Regions from separate parts of the Homo sapiens genome. Here all the other regions are linked to region 1. The links are contacts of gene promoters, found by promoter capture Hi-C in blood cells and fetal thymus (Javierre and others, 2016). All regions are on one chromosome and are shown on one strand. The core of a region is centred on a gene start or on the middle of the fragment in contact, and the rest is flanking DNA. Distances in the headings are between cores, read along the strand shown.

What was found. Contacts are between HindIII fragments. The CHiCAGO score rates a contact against its expected background, and 5 or more counts as called.
Region 2: a fragment that was not itself captured here is called in contact with the fragment with the promoter of CNDP2 in region 1 in 4 of 17 cell types (naive CD4 T cells, total CD4 T cells, non-activated CD4 T cells and 1 more); the score reaches 9.0 in naive CD4 T cells.
Region 3: a fragment that was not itself captured here is called in contact with the fragment with the promoter of CNDP2 in region 1 in 2 of 17 cell types (naive CD8 T cells and activated CD4 T cells); the score reaches 5.8 in naive CD8 T cells.
Region 4: a contact is called between a fragment that was not itself captured here and the fragment with the promoter of CNDP2 in region 1, in 3 of 17 cell types (M2 macrophages, M1 macrophages and M0 macrophages). The highest score is 6.2, in M2 macrophages.

What each region holds. Positions count from the first base shown.
Region 1 is chr18:74,494,487-74,499,268 of GRCh38, reverse strand. CNDP2 (carnosine dipeptidase 2) reads right to left here and starts at 2,906. Exons shown (of 12, transcript NM_018235.3): 1 at 2,838-2,906. RefSeq lists enhancers at 1,798-1,897, 2,281-2,793, 3,351-3,620 and silencers at 2,391-2,440, 2,571-3,080. The HindIII fragment of the contact is 6,969 bases long and covers 1-4,459 here.
Region 2 is chr18:74,079,008-74,083,789 of GRCh38, reverse strand. It overlaps FBXO15 (F-box protein 15), which reads left to right. Exons shown (of 10, transcript NM_001142958.2): 9 at 1,739-1,863. Among named protein-coding and RNA genes, the nearest start is that of FBXO15, 66 kb to the left of the region's middle. The HindIII fragment of the contact is 1,971 bases long and covers 1,064-3,034 here.
Region 3 is chr18:74,169,952-74,174,733 of GRCh38, reverse strand. No RefSeq gene overlaps it. Among named protein-coding and RNA genes, the nearest start is that of TIMM21, 24 kb to the right of the region's middle. The HindIII fragment of the contact is 4,007 bases long and covers 255-4,261 here.
Region 4 is chr18:74,233,348-74,238,129 of GRCh38, reverse strand. No RefSeq gene overlaps it. Among named protein-coding and RNA genes, the nearest start is that of CYB5A, 56 kb to the left of the region's middle. RefSeq lists an enhancer at 1-498. The HindIII fragment of the contact is 2,976 bases long and covers 1,174-4,149 here.

The DNA.
Region 1 (4,782 bases), core at 1,657-4,156:
TCAGACTCTTTTTGTTAGTCACAATGAATACAATGGAAAATTGATTCTGGTATTGGGACTTTTATAATTGGCTTTCCGCAGCAGAAAGCACACAGCTGTACGGAGCAAATTCAAAACTGCGGGGACATGAAGTGCCTCAGAGTCACAGCTGTGGAGTGACAGGACCCTACTACAGCCTCGTGTCTACATGCCAGACAAACGCCTGTGCATTGACATGCTGCAGGTAAAGAGCATTGTTTCCTTGGTATAGGCTTTCAAAGTGATTTCTCAACAGAGAGGTGACTTTATCCACCACGACACCAAGCGTGGCAACTGTTCAAAAGTGGCTGTTGCTGTGCAGGGTGATGAAATCGCAGGGCACTGCAAGTTGCAAATGTGATTTCTATGTGGGTGGGACATCCAACCACTGCCTTCTCAAGTGCCCTCTTCCTCCTCTTCAAACACTAGCCACAGAGCATGGAATGGTTATATACCTCCCAGCCAGCTCGGATCTTTCTGCTGAGGCACTCATTTGGAGGAGCCTCAAGTAAGATGGAGCCCATGAGCACGCTGGAGAGGCGTTTATCAGTGTTAATAAATAACACTGTCATCCACCTGTTGCCAAAAATGTACGCAGGGAAGCTACCTGTTCACATTAAAGGAAATCCTATTTAGCAGGACAATATGCTACATGTGGTGATTTTCATCTGGGTTCCTGGTTATTAAATGCCACAAATCCCAAGCTCACTGTGGTACATTCTCATTAATATTATTCTCTTGTAGTCAAATTAACCAGTGGCATTGTAGCTAAAGTCACTCAAAAATATAGTCACGTGCCACATAACATTTCCATCAACAACAGCGGTGGTCCCAAAAGATTATAATGGAGCTAAAAAATTCATTTTCTGTCTAGATATGTTTAGATACACAAATACCTACCACTGTGTTACAACTGCCTACAGCATCCAGTAAAGGTACATGTACGGGTTTGTAGCCTAGGAGCAATAGGCTACACCATATAGCCTAGGTATGTAGGAGGCTGTACCATCCAGGTTTGTGTGAGCGCAGCTCAGGATGTGCACACAACAACGAATCGCCTAACAATGCATTTTCTTGGAATGTATCCCCATCCTTAAGCAACATATGACTGTAATTATCTAAGTTACGACTTTCACTAAAAGAGAGGAAACAGGGATCAGATTGTTCCACCATCAGAGATGGGCTAAAAAGCAACTCCTGTTAATCACTCATCCAGTCAAACCAGGCTAGGCCAGGTTCCAGTTTCTCCTCCCATTCACACTTCTGGGTTACTCCTGTTTCACTTCCCCCCACCTCCCCCGTTACAAAGCCATTAAATGGAACCATTTTTATATGCTCTGGAGAACACCACTAATTAAGGTAAAAGCAGTATGCTGATTTAAGCAAAAGCATTATCCTTTTAAATGACACCTCACTCCCCTCTAAAAATCTAAAGTTCATACGGAGTAACTTTATTTATTTATTTAGAGACAGGTTGTCATTCTGTCACCCAGGCAGGAGTGCATTGCTGTGATTTTGGCTCACTGCAACCTCTGTCTCCCAGGCTCAAATGATCCTCCTGCCTCAGCTTCCCAAGTAGCTGGGACTGCAGGTGCGCACCACCACACCCAGCTAATTTTTGTATTTTTTGTAGAGACGGGGTTTGCTCGTGTTACTCAGGCTGGTCTCGAACTCCTGGACTCAAGCGATCTGTCCGCCTTGGTCTCCCAAAGTGCCGAGGTTACACACATGAGCCACCATGCCTGGCAAGGGAGTAACATGATTTAAATGTTGAGACTAGTGGAGGGCAGGAGAAATTGCTGTGGCACCTGGAACCGTCAGTAGTACACACAAATGAGTCTTCTAGTTCTGAGAATCTCAGTCCCTGTCCCTTGATAATTGAAGGCATATATAACACAAATAACTGAATCACACCTTCATGTCTGATTAAGAACCAATAAAAGAATCTCCAATCTGCCCAAGCTAGAACTTGATCCCTAAGCATAATGTGGACTTCTCTTCCTCCACTCCTGCCTGCAAACATTAGGGACAAGGAAGGTATTGGTAGCAGGCCCCGGGTTCTCCGCCTCTTCCTGCAGTCTATGCTTGGATGATCTACGGAATCTGACCTTGGCAGGCGGTGGGGAGTTTGGTTTGGTGGCCCTGTCTGTGAGGACCAAATATTGTCTCTATTTCACAGATGAGGAAACTGAAGCCAATTGAATAAGACACCTGCCCCAGACCATCAAGCTGGCATGGGAATTTTGTCTCCCCTCAGACGCTTCCTCCTATAGCCTTAAACGCTGCCTCAAATGCTGGCGGGAGCTAGGGACGCTGTCCAGGGCCCTTTGAACCTGGGAGGCTTCTGTCCCGCCACACTCCCCACCCCAGGTCTCCGGGAAAGGGATCCGTTGGAGAAAGGCTGGAGTTCTCAGCAGGCCCCTGGGGAGGGGTGTGGCCTGACCAGCGCTCGGCTCCCCGCAACCCCATCTCCAACCCGGGTCGTTCCACTCGACTCCACCAGGGAGGGCCACGCAGGCTCAGGCCAAGTGCGCCGCCCAGCTTGTCCCTGCGTACCGGGGACGCGCTCGGCGCTGCTGGGACACGAGTGGCCCGGAGGTGCGAGAGGCCCCGGGGCCATGGCCGTCACGGGCCTCCGCCCCCGACCGCGCGCTCGGGAACAGCCCGGACACCATTGTTCCCGCCTGGCTGCGGCCGGGCGCCCCACGCTCCCCCACGAATGAGGCGTGACTCTCGCCGCTGACCCGGGTCCTCCCCGCCCAGCCCGTTCCCAGCTCAGGGCGCCCACCCGGGAAGGAAGGTCCATCAGGAAGACCCACCTGGGAAGGAAGGCCCACTAGGCAAGGCCCTGTTACCAGCAGCAAGCGCGGCGCCGGTTCCGTACCACGTGTCCCGGCCACGACCCCCGGCGCTGGCCCGCCCCGCGGTCGCCCTGGCCACCAACCCCGCCTTGTCCGGAGGGCAGGCATCGCCACGCCCCCGCCACGCCCACCAATCCAGCCACAGGCAGAGGGGTGGTGTCACTCTCTCCCCGCCCCATTTCCGCCCTGAGCCAGGTGCGGAAGGTGACGTCACCTCTCCCAGCTCCATTTCCGTCCCGCCCACCAATCCCGGCCTGGTCCACAAGGCTTTCGCCTCGTCGCCCCTCCCCGACGGTAGACGGGGATGTGGGCGTGGCGAGGGGGCGGAGATTTCGTGGGTTGGGATTCAGGGGAGGCAGGGCACACGGGAGCGCGTGTCCGGAGCTGTGGGCTTGTGCTGTGCTTCCCGGTTGCTCTTGGGTGGGCGGGGGGCCTGGTGCTTCAACGGTGGGGTCCGAGAAGTCGCCTGCAGTGCGGCAATGGAGTCCAAAACTAGGGGGCCCTGACTCCACCCTCTGATCTCCCAGGCTCCGGAGGTCCCACGACGCTCCCATTCCCTTGCGCATCCAGCACTGCACTTTCCGTTGCGTTTCAGTCCCGGCGGAGTCGGGGCACGGACTCCTGCGGGTCACACAAGCTCCAATGAGAGGTCGGTCTGAACTGGATTAGGAAAGCGTTCGCCAGCATCGTTACCAGTAGTGGAAATATTTTAGTATTTGTGTCCCATGACCCTAGGAACTGATGAAGGAAGCAGAGCCAGCACCGTGTTTGAGCGTCTGCGACAGCGCTTTCCTTTTTAATCTTAACAACAATTCTTGGGGGTAAAATTGTTATTCCCTAGTCTGCTCACTTTTCCAATAGAGTGTTCTCAAAAGACTTTCTTTAAACTTGTACCACTACCACATTCTTTAAGGAGTGATGGCTCGGGAGTTATTATTTTTTAAAAATGAATTTAATAGTTGTAAGAGATGTATACGTTCCCACATAAAGTAAAATGTTAAAATTGTCTCCTCCCTTAAAATTTACATGGTTTGTTTCCTCTTTTTATATTTATTTATTTATTTATTTATTTATTTATTTAGAGACAGAGTCTTGCTCTGTTGCCATGCTGGAATGCAGTAGCCCAGTCTCAGCTCACTGCAAGCTCCGCCTCCCAGGTTCAAGCCATTCTGCCTCAGCCTCCCGAGTAGCTGGGACTGCAGGTGCGCACCACCGCACCCAGCTAATTTTTGTATTTTTAGTAGAGACAGGGTTTCACCATATTGGTCAAGATGGTCTCGATTTCTTGACCTACTGATCCACCCGCCTCAGCCTCCTAAAGTGCTGGGATTACAGGCGTGAGCCACCCCGTCCCCCCCATCCCTGCCTCCTCTTTTATTTTTTATTTCTATTCCACATCCCTCATAGAATTTTGTTAAATGTAACATTTTTATACTTAATAGTCTTACTCATATCCTAATCATTTCTCTACAACAGACTATGATAAAAATTTAAATTAATATTTACTTTGCTATAACCAGATGAGATTAGGCATGTTCAGGGTGGTATGGCCATAGACACTTTGCTATAACCAAAAAGCTTTAAGTATTAACATTTTTTCTTCTGGATTAAATTCTCATAATAATTATTGTACATGAATGATAAAAAGAAAAAACTATATTACACATTTTGCAAACATTGCAAAAAGTAAACATTGGTGGAAGATACATCCTTTAATCATATCTACTGGGCTTTTAAATAAATTCGTTCAGGTATCCATAAATGAGATTATTGCTGAAAAGAGGGTTTGGTTAAAAAAAAAAACAAAACACACACACACACACACACACATATGTATATAGCAAAAAGAAGTGATTTAGAGTAGAAGCCATAACACACTACTGTTACCAAAATTTAATAGGCT
Region 2 (4,782 bases), core at 800-3,299, 410 kb after region 1:
GAAGAGCTTAACCTTTCTCTGTCTTATAAGTGGTTACAGAGGGTTGGCGGAAAGAGCTCTGACCTTTGGAGACACCACAGTGTTATAATTGTTCTGAAGTGGGAGAATACCTGGTAATAACAAAATAACAGTCTCTGCTTCCTACAGGGATTTGAGGTTTATTAGCTCAGGCAGTTGCCACTGAGACGTTATTGGCTGCTGTATTTGGAGTGCATTTTCTGCCGTGTCCTGGGGACAAGCTGTGTGGAAGATGAGCTCCTGGTTTTCTGTAGGCGCCGTCGGCTGCCTGCCTTTGCCGCACCAGTCAGAGGCCTCCCTTGGTTTTGCACGTGGCTGCAGTAGTGCAGGGCAGAGCAGAGTCACATCTGGTCCATTCAGAATGTCATTACTGTGCCTCCACTGAGGCCTCGCTTTTCATACACTTCCTCCCTGCTTCCGTCGAGCCCTGCTGAGGTGACGAGGTGATGAGGTGACAGCAGAGCTGTTGCCTGGGAAGGGTCCGTGTCATTTGGCATTTCTTCCTATGCCTGGGGAGAGTGGAAGGGAAGCTACACAGCTCTTGCTAATTACTCAGCATTAGAGAGGAAAATGTGGGCTGCCTCTGTCCTTGGAACAGAAGTAAGACGTGGAGAAACCAGCAGTGTGGCATCTGGGCAAGGAGCTCCCGTTTGCGGGGCTGGAAACCCTGCCTCTGCGTCCTCTTTCACTTAAAGCATATTACTGGGTCACAAAAGAGGCCCCAGGCAAAGTGTGGGCTTTAACCTTCTGGTGACACTGAAGTTGGAGAACACTGTATAACATTTCTAGAGCAGAGCTTTGGCTCCCAAGGCAGCTTGGCTTTGGTTTTATTTTGTCTCATGAAATAACCAGGCCAGGGCTGGAGAACATTTGCTCTTTTCCATGATTTTTCTGTTTGCTTTGCCCTGTGACTTGCATCTTCCCTTTGTTCAGACTTCCATCTCTGGAGAATTCTCGGGTATGAGTTGTGTTGCTGTCGGTTGGTTTGTGTGAGAAGCAACTGATGGTCGCTTCTCAGGGTGCGTTCAGACAGAACCAGGAAGCTTGTGTCTGTGTGAGACCGAGTGGTGCTGCGGCTCTCCCTGCCACAAGAGGCCTGTGGCAGCAGGGCTAGTGTGCTGTGTGGGTGCGAGGGCTCCTCCGTGTGGCCAGGCTGCCAGTAGCTGGCTTGGAGCTGGCAGCAGAGGGCCAGGGTTTGGCCTCCAGCTAGGTGGGCATGTGCACGGACTCTCACTCAGTTACAAGCATGTGCAGAGGTGTTGGTTTATTTCATGTGAGTTTCTTCCACTCCTCTTCATGTTCGCCTGCTCTCCAGCCCCTTGTTTCTTTGCCATTTCTGCACCTGCTTTCTTCAGCTGTGTAATTCTAGATATCGGTTTCCAACACTGTTGGCTTACCCACATCAGAAGAACCCTTTCCTCCTTCAGCGACCACCTTTCCATCAGTGACAGGTGGCTATCCAGGCTCGCCTCAGCCAGCTTCCCCTGACTCACCTTTGACATCACCTTTCTGGGCACTTGTTAATGTTTCTGCCTCTGGGACACAGATGCATCACTCTGGCCTCAAGCCAGAGGCTGGGATTGCTGTGCCCATGTTGCCCTCATCGCTGAGGCCAGGGCTTACCAGGGTGAGGTATCCTTATAAAGTCGCCGACTGAACGTGCTTGGTTTGTCATCTTGCACTGGAAGACAGTGATTGAAACAATCTTATATCTTTTCAGGAAATATTGAAAATGGACATGTGAAGCTCATTGTTATACATTTAAAAAATAACAGAGAACACCTACCTCTTATTGGAAAAGTTGGCCTCTCGTGGAAAACTGATATTTTTGATGGCTGTATAAAGGTAAAAACAGAACCGTTTTCTTTTCTTCAAGTAACTTGATTTCTATATAATAAAAAGTCTGTTTATATATATAAATTATATTGTCATATATGTATGATGTTTCTTTTATAGTTCTGGATTTATTGTTCTGGTTTCTGAAGGTTGGTGCACATTCTGTTAGCCATTGACAGCCAGTGGATTCACTCATGAGATGCTTATTGAGTACCTTTCATTTGTCACTGAGTATGGTGGAGTTGGAGGGGCAGGTAGTCTGCAGCAGCATTTCAGAACACTGTTGATCACAGTCCCCTACTCTCTCAAAGCCCCTCTGTTTTGTGGAAAGAGAGTGGAACTGAAGGTTGGACCACGCAGGCAGCATCTACTCAAAACATCTTGATCATCCATGTACCAATTTAAAACTTATTGCAGTTATAAATTCTTAGTCCAGGATATAGGGATTTCCTTGAACTGTTAAATAAAGATTAGCCACATGGGTGGGAGAGTTGACTTAGTGGTTGGGAAGTAGCAGGGAAGGAGGGAGGAGGAGGAAGAGGAGAAAGATGTTCTCACAGTTTTGCTTTCTTCTGTCCTTGTGCCCATGGCTGCTCCTGGTTCTTGTCACTCTCCAACTTTATTTTATGGGATGAACAAGATTTTCATTGTCCCAGGGACCAGTGGGATCAATCTCCTGTGACTGCGGGGGCCTCCTGTAACATGGCTTTATACGGCGCTATGCATGCGCACCTTGTTAGAACTATTAATGATGACGACTGGGACCAAGAGTGGTGTTATCATGAAGCACTGTCCCTTGAGCCACTTGATATTTGATGCAATGAGATATTTTACAAATCCTATTTATTCATAGCAAATGTTTAAGTTTTGGTAAAAATGATGTTTATCACACACCATGTTGTTTCATGCCTTTAAGAGCACAGACCTACCTTCTTTCTTTTTCTTCAGATTTCAATAAAGCCTATAATAAAAGTAGGTACTAAGATAAAATATTCACGTCAAAATAGACCTTGAGGATCAAGAAAGGCAGAATGTGAATGTGACTGTCTTTTAAAGGGTCAGCATAATTTTTAAAAATAATTTGTTCTGTGTTTTCTGGTAGTCCAGAGAAAGATGAGAGCAGTCATTTAGTTCTCATTGGGAGAAAAAAGGGAAATGTAGTAATTATACAAAGAAAGCTTTATCCCAGTTCTGATCATTAAAAACAAAATTTCCAATGGGACTTTATGTAGGGCAGACTAAGCTACATAATGGACCCACCCTGAATAGCATCTTAGCAGCAGATGCACTCACAGATTTCTCATAGAAGTTCTCAGAGAAGCTGAAGATACGGCTTCAAAATTGGACCTTTACATGAGCTCCAAGCAGTGATTCTGTAGGTTGCTAAACCAATGTGACTGAGGTGCACAGGTGTTTAGAAAAACAGCTTGATCTGAAAGCAGGATTTTGAGTTTTTAAAGTAGAGAATGGATTGCATGTCCCTGGACAGTTTTCCCCATAAATTCCTTCTCTCAGATGGGCTTTGGGAAAAGATAGCAGATAGCTCAAAAGCTTGTACCTTCTCCCTTGGGCCTGGAGGGTAGATGTGGTTTATTTTCTGTTTGCCTTTTATGCTCTTGGATTCAGTATTAAGACTAAGCCGTCCTCAGAATTCCCAAAAGAATAAAAAGTCAGATCAGTGATGTCATATGTCTTGTATTTGCTGTGCAGCTCAGGTATTTCTCTCCAGGAATCTGATCACCCTAAGAATAGTGAAATGATAACATTTATTTTAAGAAATTGCTTGGAAGGAGTTAAAAACTTTTTTTTTAAAGCATGGACATAAGCTTAGAAAGTTTCTTAGGTACATATGACTTTTAAAAAAATGTAAAATAAAAACCCGGCTCCTTCTGGAAATTGTAGACACAACCTCTGGTGAGGAGCTTCTACTAAATAGTTTACGATGCCTGTCAGAGCATAGGCTACTGAGAAAGTACGTCACCCAAATACGATGCTGGTGGAAGGACAAAGAAGTGAGAAAATATTAATGATAATGACGGAGGATGCTGCCTAGTTGTGTCGTGTTGGTTGAAGTGATGTGCAGTCGTGAAAGGACATCTGATGTCCTTGGGACCTGCTGTTCCCATGAGAATCTCCGTCTTCCTCCAACCTCAGAGTTGAGTGACCTCCAACACTTACTGGTGTGGAGGTAATTCAGGTGGAAAGTATCTTTAGTTTGAGTTCCTAGAGCAAAAACTCAACAGATCATAAGTTTATGTGGTAAATTATTAAACTTTAAAATTCTTTAAAAATCACATTCTAAGTAGGTCAGTTTTTTATTCTTTTTTTAAAAAACTCAAAAGATACTGATAATTATTACAATAATATTATGAATGAGCTGTATTTTAATTGTGGTAAAATAAACATAAAATTTACCACCTTCACCACTTGACTTCTATATTTCAGTGGCTTACATACCTTCTCATTGTTGTATAACCATCACTACTGTCTAATCTCCAGAACTTTTCATTTAAAGATGCTTTCAGTGGCCACGTGTTAGTACTGAATCCATGCAGGACGCTTGCTCTGTAAGTGGTTACCATGCTATTTTACAAAGTCATGTTGAAACAGCTAGGCTACCCTCTCAAGGTAACCTTGCTGCAGTCTTCAGCATAAGTCAAGTAATCAAAGTGAAATACTCTCCTGCTCTGTCTCCTCCCAGCGCCTATCAGAATTTCAGATGGATGGATTTTCTTTTGGTGAGGCTTTTCCCGTATGTTTCTTTTATGTTTTTCTTTCACTCCTTGGCATTTTTGATGTTATTTTAATGTTACTTCTAAATCTATATGGAGATTGGCATCAATTTTTATTTAGACTAGATATTTCAGTGTAGTTCTGTGGTTCTGCTTTATGTAAGAACAGCTGAGTTCAGTAGAGCCTGCTGTGGGT
Region 3 (4,782 bases), core at 1,009-3,508, 320 kb after region 1:
ACTTAAATGTTAAAGTATGATTTCATATTTTAAAAAAACTATTTTACCATAAAATTCTTTCTTAAAAATAGAAAGTCTGATAAAATCCATGGAGTGAATTTTGGAAAATATTACCACAGGGCCATCTTTGGCTAAGTTTTCTTCTCCATGTACATCTGGTTGGTTTCCAATCCTCCACATCCTACTTACTAACATCTCCCAAACCTGCTTCTGCCCCATGTCCCCATTCACTTTCGCAGCCTGACCGTTAAGCTTCCGTCACCTCTCAGGCCAAGGGCATCCTCTCTGAGCTAGCTCCTCTCTTTTTAACTTCTCACCTTTTAAATTTAGTTTTCGCCAGGTGCAGTGGCTCAGGCCTATAATCCTAGCACTTTGGGAGGCCAAGGCGGGTGTATCGCGAGGTCAGGAGTTCAAGCCCAGCCTGAACAACATGGTGAAACCCCGTGTCTACTAAAACTACAAAAATTAGCCGGACGTGGTGGCGGGTGCCTGTAATCCCAGCTACTGAGGAGATTGAGGCAGGAGAATCGCTTGAACCCGGGAGGCGGAGGTTGCAGTGAGCTGAGATCGCGCCACTGAGCTCTAGCCTGGGCGACAGAGTGAGACTCGGTCTCAAAATAATAATAATAATAAAATAAATAAATAAATAAATAAATAATAAATCCAGTTTTTACTTGGCTGACAGAGTGATCTTGAACGCAAGTCAGTTTCTTAAAAACTTTCAATGGCGGCCGGGCGCGGTGGCTCACTCCTGTAATCCCAGCACTTTGGGAGGCTGAGGCGGGCAGATCACAAGGTCAGGAGATCGAGACCATCCTGGCTAACACGGTGAAACCCCGTCTCTACTAAGAATACAAAAATTAGCCGGGCGTGGTGGCGGGCGCCTGTAGTCCCAGCTACACGGGAGGCTGAGGCAGGAGAATGGCGGGAACCCGGGAGGCGGAGCCTGCAGTGAGCCGAGATCGCGCCACTGCACTCCAGCCTGGGCGACAGAGCGAGACTCCGTCTCAAAACAAAACAAAACAAAACAAATTTTCAATGGCTACCCATCACTCAGGGAAGGAAACCCAATCTCCTCAGCAAAGGATCAAGTATTTGTCACGCTCAGCGTTTCCTCACCACCCCCGCCCCGCACCCAAGGCTGTGGCACCCCGGTGGGAGCCCTCCATGAGGAAAAGGAGGCAGGAAGCCGGTGGAGTTACAGGCAGGGAGGCGAGGCTGGCAGTGTTACCTAGAGGAGCATCCTTGGGACCACAGAGCTGGCGGAGAAGAGAGATGAAAGCACCCTCCAGAGACTGGAGCCCAAGCCAGCTGCTGAGAGAAATAGCGCAGTGAGTGCAGCTGGGAGGACTGGGAGGACTGGGAGGACTGGGAGGACTGGGAGGACTGGGTGAGGAAGGGAGGAGGAACCGGGAGGGGGACAGGGCTGAGAGCGCCGAGCGGGAAGCGGACTTGGCCACGAGGTAAGGAGGGCTGGCATTGCCAGGCTTTCCCTTGAGCGGGTTCTGACCCTCTCCTCAGCATGCAGGACGTGGTGGCCAGGCGGGACCCTCCTCGTCCCATCCTCACTGCTTCCCTACAAGGTGCAGCGATGGCTTAGAGCCCCTTTCTGGGCCCCTGCGCAGAGAAACACCTGAAGCCTTCCCCGGTCCTGCCCTTAGAATGAATAGCTCCCTCTTCTCTGATCTCGGCACTCGCCTTGTTTTTGGCATGTTGTCCTGTTTTGTTGATATTTTTGTTTCCCCCATGGGAGCTCGCCACGGAGCCAGGTGAGACCGTTGGGATTTGCCCGGCGAGATCCTCCCCTCGTTGGCAGCATCTTCCTGCATGTGCAGCGTGCGCAGGCGCGGTGGGAAGAGCCACACTACGGAGTTAGCACTTTTCCTGAGGACTAGATTGCACCCTTTCCTTCACTGCAGTCTTCCTTAGAACTTTAAGGAATAGATTGCACCCTTTCCTTCACTGCAGTCTTCCTTAGAACTTTAAGGAATAGATTGCACCCTTTCCTTCACTGCAGTCTTCCTTAGAACTTTAAGGAATAGATTGCACCCTTTCCTTCACTGCAGTCTTCCTTAGAACTTTACATACAATTAATTATCAGAAAGAGTTACAAGATCAGCACTATCGTTTTCCCACTTACAGATAAGGAACTAGGCAATTTACGGAGAAGTAAAGTAAATGACCTGTCGCAGTGGTAGAATTGGGACTTGACACAGCTACAGCTGTCTGAATTCTGAGCCCAAATGCTCAATTGCGAAGCTGTATTGCTCAAGAGAAGAAAGATTGAGTCTCTGGACCTGTTCACTGCAAACAAGAAAGTGAAACTATGAGGAGCTGGTCTGAGAATGAGATGCGGTCCTGGTATTAATATTAGAAAGATCGGCGGGGTGGGGAGCTCTCTGTTGTGCTGAGCTGACCTGAGGAAAGGGCACCTTTCTCACTTTATGCTTCTCCCAATCCACAAGACTCCTCCTCACCTCTACTGATCCGGTGGCGCCTAAAATGTTCACTTTGCCTGATTTTAAACCAAGAAAAAGGAACATAAACACCTGTCGACATGGTTGTGTTTAGGACCTGTTTAAGGCACTAGTCTTTATTATAGTCTTTATTACAGTCTGAGAGAGTATGGAGATGAGGAAACAGAGGAGGAGGGGGGACAGCAGAGAGAGGAGGGAGGGACATCAGAGACAGAGAAGCAGGAGAAAAAGGGCACAAACGGCCAGGCATGGTGGCTTACGCCTGTAATCCCAGCACCTTGGGAGGCCGAGACAGATGGATCACCTGAGGTCAGGAGTTCAAGACCAGCCTGGCCAACATGCTGAAACCCCGTCTCTACTAAAAATACAAAAAAATTGCTGGGTGTGGTGGTGGGCACTTGTAATCAATCCCAGCTACTTGGGAGGCTGAGGCAGGAGAATTGCTTGAACTCGAGAGGCAGAGGTTGCAGTGAGCCGAGATCACGCCATTGCACTCCAGCCTGAGCAATAAGAGTGAGACTCCGTCTCAAAAAATAAAAAAAAAGAAAAGAGAAAGGGCACAAACAAGGGTTGTAACTTGGGGACACTGAGGCTTGATGGGCTTCCAATGAGAGTTAGCCGGAAGCTGCGTCATGCTGTTTCCTTGGGACATGAGCTTCTGTGTGGAGTCACCTGGATTTTGAAGGGTTTTGTGTCGTTTAACTGCTCATCAGAGCTCTCCACACACTGAAACCTCAATTCTCTTGTTGAGACACTAGAAGTCTGCGGGTGCCCCTCACACAGGAGAAATGCAAGCTGCCCCCTTGAAAAACGTCCTCAGAGTTGCAACCACAGGGGCCAAGTCAAGAACACTTCAAAGACTGGATGCAATCCAGCCAAGAGGTTGGCTCCTTCCCTCAGCCAGATCTCCCATGTGCTACCATAAGGAGAGCCTCGCAGAGCTGTGGCAGGTGGTATTGGCATGGATGAGAAACTTCTGCATGGGTCTTAGTGAATGCATTGGCATTCCTGGATGAAATACATTAAAAATGAAATAAATCCATATTAATAACAAATAATGATACAGTCACCTTTGATAGAGTAAAAATGAACACTTTTGTAATCCTTTGTTATGAAAAATAATGAGCCTATGAAGATTCAATTTCATTATTTGCAACTACTTGAAGCATATTTTTATCTCATTTCTTGTATCTATAGGCTAAATACAAATTGATATCAATGCTGATGATATTTAGCTTAATAAGTTTATATCTTTTATCTGAATTATTCCTAAATAAAATTGACAGCAGTATTCGCAGCTTGTAACACAGAGCAGCCAGTGGCTTCCAGGAAAAGTATAGGTAATTTTCATCATCTTGCCAGAGACAAGGGGTTCTGCTGGGTTCATCTAGAAATCAAGACATATTCCTTTAGAGGCTTCCCTATGGGCAGTAAGCCATTTGCCTCACTTGGCATTTATTTGTTGACAGCATTTACATGTCTTTGAAACAATGCTGACAACTTTGCTTAAATAAATGAACATTTCCATGTCCATTCTCAGGTGGCCAGAATAATCAGTGGATGTGAACAGTAAATTCTCATAAATGTGACTCGTGTTTGGATTAAGTATCGTCATTGACCAAATCATTTTGTCCTTCTCCCCATTTGTCGTGCCACCCTCACATGATGTTATAATACCCATCGAATAATCATGACTGTCAGCAATAAATGCAGCCACTGACGCCAGCTGCAAGGAATGAAGTCAAGATTGTCCATGCGACGAATCTGACCTTTTCAACTAAGCTTTAATTTTGGTACGCTTTTCCCCCCCTTTTTATAAATTACTCAGATCTCAAGGTAATAAGCATGTAAAGGAAAACCTGTTAAACATCTTATGCTGTACTCGCCATTCCTTTAACTATTTTTAAACGAATTCCTTGTTCAGCACAAATTCAAGAAAAAGCAGAGAGTGTAGAAAAAGAGGACAGAGAGGGACATTTTATAATTTTTAGGAGATGTCTGTATTATGATTATAAACCAGAAAAGCACAGACTAATGTTTTTCTAGGTTGGATGAGAAATCTAGAAATAGGATATTGGTGGTAAAAGGGGAAGAGTGCCTTAGGAAGAGTCTTGGGCGTAATTTGGGGAGTACCTTTCTTCCAAGCTACACACAGCCAACTGTTGGTAGCATCATATTCCACACAGTGAGAAGCAAGGTGGGGCCAAGATGCCACTCTGGAAGGTCAACAGATAAGTGCAGAATATCTCATGCAAATGATTGAAAGCAAATGGTGACTCCGAGCTATGTAGGAGCTTCTCATGTA
Region 4 (4,782 bases), core at 1,412-3,911, 260 kb after region 1:
TATGATAGTGTGACGCTCTGCTTTCATTCCGAATCTCTTATCCATCCAGTCACTCAGGAGTGGGAAACACTTCCCTATGTCAGTTTCTGTAGAAAGCACTGGGGATACATGATGATCAAGGTGCTGTGTCTTCCAGAGAGAACGTTCTGGAAGGGGATGAGGATGTCTGGATGGGAGATATGGCTGGAGGGTCATCAGCTCATGGAAGTCACTGAGGCCACCTGGATGCTGCAGTCCTTGGGAAGGGTATGTGGGATGAGATCAGAGAGCCGGGGATGGGAGCCCATGGGAGACGCAGCCACAGATGGCAGCAGCGTGCTGGGCAGTGCCCTGGGCTGCAGGGCCAGGGAGAGCAAGACCACCAAGACAGCATGTGTGCAGGGCTCACCAGGGCCCAGGCAACCTCAGAGGGTGTGATGTGGATGACCTCATCTCATCCTCATGGCACACAGAGGAGTAGAAAGTGATCAGTATCTCCATTTTAAAAATGCAGCAGCCAAGATCCCAGAAAAGTGGGTGCCGGAGCGAGAGTCAGCTCCTCTTGTTGGTCTCTAAGGTCCCTGTGCTCACCCAGTTATGCTGAGATTAGGACGGAACGTGTCTTCTGGGGGAGCAACAGCAGCCACCACCCACGGGCAGATCCAGGGCAGCCCCCAGGGCAGAGGAAGGCCAGGAGGTGCGCAGTGGACGAGAAGAGCGGGGACTGCCATTTCAGGAACCCTGGCTGTGATCCGGGGGAAAGAGATGGGCAGGTGGTGGTGGCTCTTCATTTCATTTTTGTTTTAAAGGTGGAAGATACTAATGGGTGTTTCAATGCTGCAAGAGCTGTGTATGGGCAGAGGCTGTTGGGGACGGGGCTAACAGACAGCCAAGGTCCTGGGAGTCTCGGAATGAGACTTCCTAGAAGGACCAAGGAGGCAAGAATGTCCCTGACATTGGGAGTAGGGGAAGGGGAGGAAAAAGGGAAATTTAAATTTCACGCCTATTGTCCCCTATTCCTGAAGCCACCCACTGAGAGGGAGAGGGAGGTGGTGGAGAGAAAGAAGAGGTTTGCAACAAGTGCCATAAGAACAAAATAGGGAGTGACCAGGCCTATGGAAGGATATGGAATAGCACTGCGAGGCTGGCTGGCTCCGAGACCACTGTGTGGGCATGTGCTTGGCCTCTGAAGCTTGGGCACAAACACTCTTATCCAGTTTCCATTCAAAGACCAGCTCGAGGCCCTGCATGCCCGACCAGCAGGAGGTTAGGTCCTTTGGTCCCTGAAAGATTCCTCCTTGAGGAAATCTAGCCCTGGGGGGCTCACTAAGTTTAAATGCTTGTTCAGTTGACACCTGTCTCTGTACTTGGAGTGAGCAGTAGGCTTTTTTTTTTTTTAACAACTGAATATCCACTCTCCTTCCAGTAACAGCACCCAGATTTAACTCGGGAGATCTGCTTCCCTCGTTTTCAGCTATGGGACATAGGTGGGATTGACCCCTCACCTAACTCCAGGCTGAGTTAGGATTCACTTGAGCTTAAAGAACATCCCATCCCTGGCCTAGTGGGAAATGATTCCACTCTATCAGAACCAAGGAGGCAGAAGGAATTTCACCAGTGTTCCTTGGAACGTGGACCTGCTTCCCTGCTGTGTGTGTGTTCAGGAGAGACTGCTTTCCTCCCCTGGTGGTGGGATGTAAAGGCATGTGTCTGGAGCTGCCATGGCCATGTTGACGTCATGAGGTATCTTGGGTCCTTCTGGGGTGGGGACTCACAGAGATTGAGGCTGAGCCTGTCAACATGGAAGGTGGGTTAGAAAGACTGGGAAACTCTGAGTCCTTGGACATGCTGGCTGAGCTGCGGATCATGCCTCTCTCGAAGCCACACCTATTGTGGACTTCTAATAAGAAGGTTGGAAGCATATGATATTGCTGATAATTTGGCAAGTGCTGACCTACAAGAATGGAAATCTCTTTCAACTTAAATGTTGAAACTTATAAATTTCCTTGATTTTCTAAGACAATTTTAGGTGGGTGGGTTTTTCTACAACTCAAAGACTTCTAACAAATATAACACAGAACTTAGAATCCTGTCCCTGAGGAAGGAGTGTGTGTATCCCTATGTCCCGGGAACTGGTTGCTCCAGAACCTGTCTCTGCGCAGCTGCTGCCGCCCCTCACTCCTCCTGCTGCAAAGCTCAGGTGATGCACAGAGATGTAAAAGTTTGCTGCTGCCGAGACCACTGCTGGCTCCTATGGCCCTGCCCGAGGGGTCAGACCAACTGGCCTCAGGTTTCCAACAGAACTGGTCCTGACAGTCCCTGGGGATTCTGCCCCAGCCTGAATAAACTATAATTCTGAGCAAAATCCAGCTGAGTTCAGCAAATGGAAGTGGGTTAGCCCTCAGAGCCCCACTTCATGTGGGGTATGACAGCAGCCTCAGCTGTCAGCTGCATCCAAGGTGGACATTCTCTCACCTCAAACATCGGCATGGCCTAAAATTGATGCCTTCCCATACATTTGTTAGAGAATAGATTGAAGGGACTTCAAGTTGCAAAGAGATATTTGAATTTTTTAAAAACCTCAAGCCAGTATTTGGAAACCGCCAGCAAGGATTTGGACATGGTGAGGTAAGTCAGACCAGTGCCAATTTCATAGGCTGAAGGGAGGTTTTCTAGGTTAGAATGCACAAGATGTAAACAGTTGATTTTTCTGCTCATGTTGTTCAACAGGTTTCTTTTTCTGTAAAGCAACTACAGCCTGAACTTGAAGCCATATCTTTTTTTTTTTTTTTTTTTTTTTTTGAGATGGAGTCTCACTCTGTCGCTCAGACTGGAGTGCATTGGCACAATCTCAGCTCACTGCAACCTCTGCCTCCCCAGTCCAAGAGATTCTCCTACCTCAGCCTCCTGAGTAGCTGGGATTACGTAGCTGTGCCACGACACTGAGCTCAGTTTTGTATTTTTAGTCGAGACAGGGTTTCACCATGTTGGCCAGGCTGGTCTAGAACTCCTGACCTCAAGTGATCCATCTGCCTTGGCCTCCCTTGGCTTACAGGCATGAACCACTGCGCCCGGCCTTGAAGTCATAATTAAGTAGTATTAACACATCATGTCTCATCAGGTAATAGGCTTTTGCTTTTTTTTGGAGGAGTCATACCAGAGTTTGCATACAAACTCTTCCTGTGTGTAATGTATCTATTTATTCATTCATATTGACTGAGAGTCTCCGACGTGTCACTGCATAGCCAGTGTGACTTCCCCAGTCAGATGACTTCCCCTATGCTTGTGTCTTTACCTCCCTGTACCCCTCGCCAGCCCTTGCTGGAACAGGCACTAACCCCCAGGCAGAAGAAGGACTTGCTTCATAAGCCTTCAAAGAAGAAACTCTGGCTTTTCTCAGTCTGTCAAAAGTCAGTGGAGGCCTCCAAGCATTTCTCATTTTCCCAATCATCGAATAATAACTTCAACACAATGATATGACTCAACCCATTGCTGACGAATGCTCAGAGCCCAAGCCTTTCAAAGCAAAGGACCTTGCATAGTTCCCCTGTCAAGGCAGGAGATTGAGTTCAGCTCAGTTTATTGGTTAAACATTATCACCCTCTGTTCCTCCCACTGGTATGTCTGTTCCAAATGCTGACCCCAGAAAAAAGTTCACATGCTCTTTCCTGAGCCAAAACATATAAAGAACAGCCTCACTTGTTGATATGTACCCTGTTATGCAATCACTTTCCTTGCAAGGGCCGAAGTTCAAGGAGCTGTTAAAGTTGATGCCCTTTCTTTTTCTCAAGTGTGAAACATAAAGAATTGCACGGGATTTTACCGTGAGAGTCAGATGGTGAGAATTCCTTAGCATTTGCCTTTCTGAAGTGGAAATTGGGTTCCCCAGAATTGTGACTGTTTGATACTCAGGTGAAGAAATTATTTTTATTGTAACCTCTTCCCCTTGGAGATTAAGGGCTGGATGAACACTTTGTTTAGCATTGCTTTTGATTCTTGCGTGGGTGTGAAAGAAAGATGATCTGTTTAATGCCACGTGGCTCCCAGTGTGCCTGCCTCAAGAGCTGTCCTTAAGTATAGCCAAAGGATTATATAATAAGCAAGATTTATATAATAATTTTGTACATGTTGCCACCAGAATATCACTATGATTTCCTATGACATAAAGCTTTCATCTGTTGCTATCAGGAAAGAATCGACTAAGCTTTTTCTGTGGGGGAAATGTGCTAGAAAGCCCTTCTGGAAACCATTCCTCAAAATCATGCGAGCTGGAATGGCAACCTAGAACTAATGCTTTAACAACCACCAGTCATCAGTAAAATAAAACATACAATACTAAAATAGCTAATAAACGACAAAGGCTATATGCCAAATGGATTCAGTAAGATATTTGGGGAACTGATGTGAGACAGACCCATGTCATCGTCAACCTTCTCTGGAAAGTCCAGGAGCAGAGGACAAGAGAAGAAATCTTCTGATATCATATTCATTGATTTGGACACCATGGAGTTAAATGGCAATTATTGTAGTCTACTGTTTATATTGGGCCAGAATCGAGGGGTTATTTCTTACAGCAGAAGTGCAGCTGGGTGGCCTTTCCATTATATCTGTTTAAAACCCACTGAATGGGCATATTTGGGGTGCCAGGGAAATGACTAGAAAAAAATCAGGTTGTGATGAGCAGTCATGCGGTGGCGTTTCTGATAGACAATACTTTCCTCTTCCTCTTAAATACAAACTATAAGCATTGTGACGAGAAAGGACCCCCATTATGAATTTTATGTATTAAATACTAATAGTTTG